Regions from separate parts of the Homo sapiens genome. Here region 1 is linked to region 2. Evidence: promoter capture Hi-C in 16 types of primary human blood cells and fetal thymus (Javierre and others, 2016). All regions are on one chromosome and are shown on one strand. The core of a region is centred on a gene start or on the middle of the fragment in contact, and the rest is flanking DNA. Distances in the headings are between cores, read along the strand shown. Region 1 overlaps RBBP6 (RB binding protein 6, ubiquitin ligase). Region 2 holds the start of PALB2 (partner and localizer of BRCA2).

What was found. Contacts are between HindIII fragments. The CHiCAGO score rates a contact against its expected background, and 5 or more counts as called.
Region 1: a fragment that was not itself captured here is called in contact with the fragment with the promoter of PALB2 in region 2 in 1 of 17 cell types (M2 macrophages); the score reaches 6.6 in M2 macrophages.

What each region holds. Positions count from the first base shown.
Region 1 is chr16:24,562,995-24,566,408 of GRCh38, forward strand. It overlaps RBBP6 (RB binding protein 6, ubiquitin ligase), which reads left to right. Exons shown (of 18, transcript NM_006910.5): 11 at 205-301; 12 at 429-507; 13 at 616-670; 14 at 1,803-1,871. Among named protein-coding and RNA genes, the nearest start is that of RBBP6, 25 kb to the left of the region's middle. The HindIII fragment of the contact is 2,490 bases long and covers 844-3,333 here.
Region 2 is chr16:23,639,942-23,643,048 of GRCh38, forward strand. It overlaps PALB2 (partner and localizer of BRCA2), which reads right to left and starts at 1,369. Exons shown (of 13, transcript NM_024675.4): 1 at 1,169-1,369. The coding sequence starts at 1,216. It overlaps DCTN5 (dynactin subunit 5), which reads left to right and starts at 1,525. Exons shown (of 6, transcript NM_032486.4): 1 at 1,525-1,649; 2 at 3,014-3,082. The coding sequence starts at 1,602. RefSeq lists a silencer at 436-670 and an enhancer at 1,798-2,587. The HindIII fragment of the contact is 17,437 bases long and covers 1-3,107 here.

The DNA of each region.
Region 1 (3,414 bases), core at 839-3,338, 920 kb after region 2:
AGGTCCTTCATTTTACTTTTCCACTTACTACATATAGAGAACTCTTCAAAGTTTCAGCCTTCTCTCACTTTCCTCAGAAGTATTCATCATCTTTGACTTAACTCATCTTAACTGCAGGTGATGGGTAAACAGCAGCAAACTTTTTTACTCTTAATTGTCCATTTCTGATAATTTTTAATGTATTATAATTTATGTTTTTTAAAGGGATTCTGATAATAAAATATTGCCAGCTGCAGCTCTTGCATCAGAGCACTCAAAGGGAACCTCCTCAATTGCAATTACCGCTCTTATGGAAGAGAAGGTAAATTTTACTGGTGCTTTAATTTGGGATTTTTTTTACAGCAGGGTTTTGTTTTTCTGGCTTTGTTCTTACCTCTTTTTTTTTTTTTTTTTTAACTATTTCTGTTTATTTGTGGTTGTTTCTAAAGGGTTACCAGGTGCCTGTTCTTGGAACCCCATCTTTGCTTGGACAGTCATTATTGCATGGACAGTTGATCCCCACAACTGGTGAGTAAGATCACTTTGGTTTAGACCTTTTTCCCTTTAAAAAATAATTTTAGCTTGATTTAATGTGCAATTTTGTATTTACCTACTGCTTTTATTTTTTGTTTCTAGGTCCAGTAAGAATAAATACTGCTCGTCCAGGTGGTGGTCGACCAGGCTGGGAACAGTGAGTAGATGTTTACAATAATCTTCAGATGATTGCCTGCAAACTAGATAATGGAAGGTCCAAACTAGGCAAACTAGATAATGGAAGGTCCAAACTAGGCAGCGGGTCGCTGCTCTTTATTGTAAACTTTCATGTGCCAGATTAACATTTTTTATGTAAAATGTCAAAATTCAAGCTTATATGAGGGTTTTTTTTAAATGAGCAAATCTTTTCTAAAATACAAAATTTTAAAAGTTTTTTTCTACTTTCATATCCAACAAATGGGGATCTTGACAGGACTTCAGTTTAATGAATAGATAAGAATTACTTGAAAAGTTATTTTAAATATGGTGGCAGTTATTTTCCTAGTAGGTTTAACTTTTTCTACCCTTAATTTGGATGATCAAAGTTTGATTTGAGTACATAAATACATAATAAGATTAACGTCTACCAAACAAAAATTTTTTGTCTGAAATCGAGTTGTTCTTGCCACCCTAAAATACAAAGAACTTTGATTTTCTCTGTGGGATATTTTATGGCATTAAAAATCAGCAGACTTACTTAATGTATTTTTAGTTATATAATTATTTCTGTTTATATAATCCGATTGAAAATTGATATATTCTTAAAAGTATGAGTTACTAGCAGGATGTATCAGTAGAAGGAACATAGGATTTAGAAACAGGTAGACTTGGGTTTGAATCCCATCTCCTTCATTTCCTAGCTGCATGACAGTGGTCTTGTGGTTTTACTCCCTAACATCCATTTCCTCGTTTGGATTTGGAATGACACTACCTACCTTAACATGTAAAATGACTTCATTGTGCCCAGCAGACAAAAGGGCTCTTTTCCTTGTATATAACAATAAGTTCACAGAGTAATTTATAGAGTGCTAATTAAAATATAATATTACATAAAGTAATCTATTTTGAGGTCTAGTTATTGTTATGATACAGTTAATTGGTGGGGGAAAGTTAGTTTTAAGTAAATATAATATTTACTCAGCTCTGTATCCGAAACAAATTTAAGAACTGGGGAGTAGGAAAAAGTTTTCAGAGTAGTTAAAATTGGTGTCTTAACAGCTATGCATGGAAAGGTCATGTATTATACCCATGGAGAAATACTTGAGCCTATTTTTTTTTCTCCCACACAGTTCCAACAAACTTGGCTATCTGGTTTCTCCACCACAACAAATTAGAAGAGGGGAGAGGAGCTGCTACAGGTAGGCATGCTAAAAATCTTGGAAAATAATCATCTTATTTTTTATATATATATCTCACCAAAGAAATTAAAGCACAGCAGTGGCAGGAAGGAAGGGGGTCATTTGTTTGTATTGTGCTTATCCCTCTTAAGTCCTGGGTAGTTGTCCTTAAAGAGGGCTAGAAAAGAATAAATTATATATAGTATCTTAAATGATGGTTTTTAAGACATTTTTAATATTCCTTCCCAGTGATTACTTTCTCCCTGTCAGCAAACAGCAGAGTATTGGCTTGCATTTACCCTCTTGGAAGTAGAAGAAAGTCAGGGGTCAGACAATATCTAAGATACCAGTTTAATTTAAGATTAAAGTTAACAAGCTCAGCTCCCAACTGTGAACAAGAATTGCAACTATTTCTCTTCTAGACCCCACTGTCCCAATCATCTCCCACCGTCTCTTTTCCAAAAGAAGAGACAGGAGATTGTTAGAGGCTCCTGCCCTAGTGGGCGGGTACAAGCAATATTAATCTAAGAAGTAAGAATCTTACTGTCTAGGTCAGGGGTCCCCAACCCTGGGCCACAGACCAGTATCCATCCTTGGCCTGTTAGGAACTGGGCAACACAGCAGGAGGTGAACAGCAGCTGAGCGAGCATTACCACCTGAGCTCCACCTCTTGTCAGATCAGCAGTGGCATTAAGATTCTCATAGGAGCATGAACCCTGTTGTGAACTGCGTGTGCAAAGGATCTGGGTTGCACGCTTCTTAGGAGAATCTAATGCCTGATCATCTAAGGTGGAACAGTTTTTACCCCCCTGCCCCCGTCCATGGAAAAATTGTCTTCCACAAAACAGCTCCCTGGTGCCAAAACGGTTGAGAACTGCTAGTCTAGGTCATAATCACCACCAGGATAAAGGAGCCTCCAAAACTTCATAACAAGAGTTTTGGCCAGGCATAATGGCTCATGCTGGTAATTTTAGAGCTTTGGGAGGCTGATGGGGGAGGATTGCTTGAGGCCTGAAGTTCAAGATTAGCCTGGGCAACATAGCAAGACTCTGTCTCTACCAAAAAAATAAAATAACCAGACATGGTGGCATGCACCTGTGGTCCCAGCTACCTGGGAGGCTGAGGCAGGAGGATCACTTGAGCTTAGGAAGTCAAGGCTGCAGTGAGCTATAACCACATCACTGCACTTTAGCCTAGGGGACAGAGTGAGACCCTGTCTCCAAAAAGAAGGAAATTCGGGATATCTTCTAGTGCTTCATTGCTAAACTTATGAAAGTTTACTATGTCATTACTGGATCACATTTTAAAAGAAGGTAATAGTTATTCATGGCTCACTGAAAAGATGCTTAAAATCTAAACCCCTACTGTTGCTGTTGTGTACCAATTATTTATAATTTAAAGCACCTCTAGTTTAACAGAAGTAACCAGTTCTGTTTGGTGAGGCACAAATTAGAAACTTAGCCAACACTGTTATTTTTACTTAAGCTTTTGAGAGAAAGCGTTGATATTTTCATTGTTAATTATAGAAGTTAAAACTAGAATTTATTCTGCTTTGTATGATCTT
Region 2 (3,107 bases), core at 119-2,618:
CGCGATCTCGGCAGCTCCCTGCAACCTCAGCGTCCCCTGGTTCAAGCGATTCTCGTGCATCAGCCTCTGAGGCCTGAGCCTCTGGGACTACAGGCTGGCGTCACCACACCCGGCTAATTTTTGTATTTTTAGTAGAGACGGGGTTTCACTACGTTGCCTAGGCTGGTCTCAAACTCTGAGCTCAAGCGATCTGCCCATCTCGGCCTCCCAAAGTGCGGGGATTACAGGCGTGAGCCAGGGAGACTGGCCTCCCACCAATCTTATCAATGTCTGGGGATTATCTTGTTTACTTATAAATGATCTTTCTCACCTCCACCAGAAGGTAAGCCAGGATAAGAATAACATCAGCACAAGCTGGAAACATCCTAAAAGTCTATCAGTAAAGTACAGTCTAAAGAAGCAAGGGCACTTCCAAGGCCAGGTGCAGTGGCGGGTTCGTGTAATCCCAGCTACTCGGGAGGCTGAGGCAGGAGAGTCGCTTGATCCCAGGAAGCGGAGGTTGCAGTGAGCCGAGATCGCGCCACTGCACCCCAGCATGGGTGGCAGAGTGAGACTCTGTCTCAAAAAAGAAGAAAAACAGAAAAGGAAGAAAAAAGAAACAAAACGAGGGCACTTCCAAACTACAACATACTGTCTAGAACTTAAAAAAGAAAGCAAGGTAGATAAACATGTCCTGACAGGAAAGCTAAACGGAACCTGCAGAACCATTCAGATCATACCATTTATGAACATTCCCTTCTCCAAAAAATATACATAGGATTCCTTTTTGGTGGTTAGGGATACGCCCCTCCTCCACCACCCACATTAACACACGAAAGGACCTGGAAGTACCAGACTTAAAAGATTTACTTGAGGCCGTCCGGGGGGAGAAGTAAAGATTGAGGGTGTGGGAGGGGGGAGGAGCAAGGGTGTCGATACAGCTTTATCTACAAACTGTTACACATTGTATTAATGCGCTGCTACTGTAATGAAATTTGTTCTTTAAACGCCACCACGTGAGCACCACGCTATTTCCACATTTTCATTTTCTGTGCCCCCTCAGCCCTAAGAGGAGGGGGTGGTCAGATGATACTGCTGCCCTCGGACTGCCGAGGACACAAAGCCAGGCCTAAAACCCTGGGAAAGCGGGGTCAGAGTCCTGCGTCCGCCCTTCCCGCACCCCCGGCACCTTTTCCTTCTCCTCACAGCTGAGGGGCTTCCCGGGAGGCTCGTCCATCGGGCAGGCGACAGAACGAAAAGAGCAGCCGTCGCCGACCCCAGGCCTGCCGACACCGGGACCCAGTTGGCCCTGGGCCGGGGAGGCGCCCCAGGAAGGAATGGGGAGCCCGGGATCGCACCCTCAGTGCGCGATCAGCTGACCCACGCGGGCCAAGCGCGCCCTAAACTCCGGCCAATTAAATCCACCATTCGGCCTGCGCACGCGCAGCCGTAGACGGCCGAGCAGTGGAGCGAGGCCGCCTAAAGGAGAGCCGCGCTGTCGATGAGTCCCAGTGGGCCACCTGGAGCGGAAGTGGAGGAGCGGCCGGAAGTAGCCGGAATCTCTGAAAGACTGACCGACTGACTCTGACAGGATCCGGGGCTGAGGGAAGGAGGCGGCGGCCATGGAGTTGGGCGAGCTGCTCTACAACAAGTCTGAGTACATCGAGACGGTGCGCGGGTCCAGATATGTATCCTCCTCTTTCCAACCCTGCGTCCCTTTGAGGCCTGGTCGGCGTTCCCAACCTGCCCCTACCCCACCAACCCCTGTCCCTTTGGCCATTAGTCCCGGATTATCTAGCGATGCCCCGTGTACCGTCTGGCTTTGCTGTTTACTCCGCGCTTGGCCAGTTGAGGCCTTTTGTATTTATTCCTGATTTTCTCATAGGGGTAAAGTGCCTTCGGGAGGATAGGACAAGTCCCATCCTGTTCATACGAATTACAGCTCGGACTTCGGGCCCTTTTACACTGCCTTTTGTATCTGTTAACTTGCGCTAAAAACGATTCGGTTCTTTTTTTTTGAGGAAGGGGGTTGGGGGGCGGAGACTCTGTCGCCCAGTCCTGAGGGCCGCGGCGCGATCTCTGCTCACTGCAACCTCCGCCTCCCGGGTTCAAGCGATTCTCCTGCCTCAGCGTCTCGAGTAGCTGGGATTACAGGCGCCCGCCACCACGCCCGGCTAATTTTTGTATTTTTTGGTAGAGACGGGGTTTCACCGTGTTGGCCAGGCAGGTCCCTAACTCTTGACCTCAGGTGATCGACCCGCCTCGGCCTCCCAAAGTGCTGGCATTACAGGCGTGAGCCACCGCACCCTGCCGATTTGGTTCTTTATGATCAGTACATGATATGTTTGTAAAATCTTGGAAACAGGGCAAGTGGTCAATTAACGTTACTATCGTTATTTTGGTTTTCTTTGCTTTCTCACAACTCTGATACTCATAGTCATTATCCTCGTTTTAAGGCCGTAAAGCCCACGCGTGGAAGTGGGATTTGAATCCGCGTCTGTCTGATGCCACCAAGCTATAGACATTCAAATTATGAGTTTATTCCTTGAGTCCCTAGTTTCCTTTGTGTTTTTATTTTTTGAGACAGGTTCTCACTCTGTTGCCCAGGCTGGAGTGCAGTGGCACAATCACAGCTCATTGCAGCCTCGGCCTTCCAGGCTCAAGCGATCCTCTAGCCTCAGCCTTCTGAGGAGCTGGGACTACAGACACGCGCCACCATGCCCGGCTAATTAAAAAATTTTTTTTTTGTTGAGAAGGGGTCTCACTATGTTGCCTAGGCTGGTCTTGAGCTCCTGTCCTCAAGGGATCCGTCTGCCTCAGCCTCTCAAAGTGCTGAGATTACAGGCATGAGCCACCATACTCAGCCATAGTTTCCTAATCCATCATTGCTTTTTTGATATCCTGGACTCACTCCATTGTGGACAGCACCCCACTTTATGTTTTTTTCTCTCAAATGGGAGCTTTCTTGATGGAAACCTGTAGTCCAGAAACCTATTAAGTTTGCTTTCCCCGGTTTTCCGTTGTTTTCTTTTAGGCATCTGGGAACAAAGTCAGTCGCCAGTCAGTGTTGTGTGGAAGCCAGAACATCGTTCTCAATGGCAAGGTAAGGGACAAAGCCAGCTCCAGGC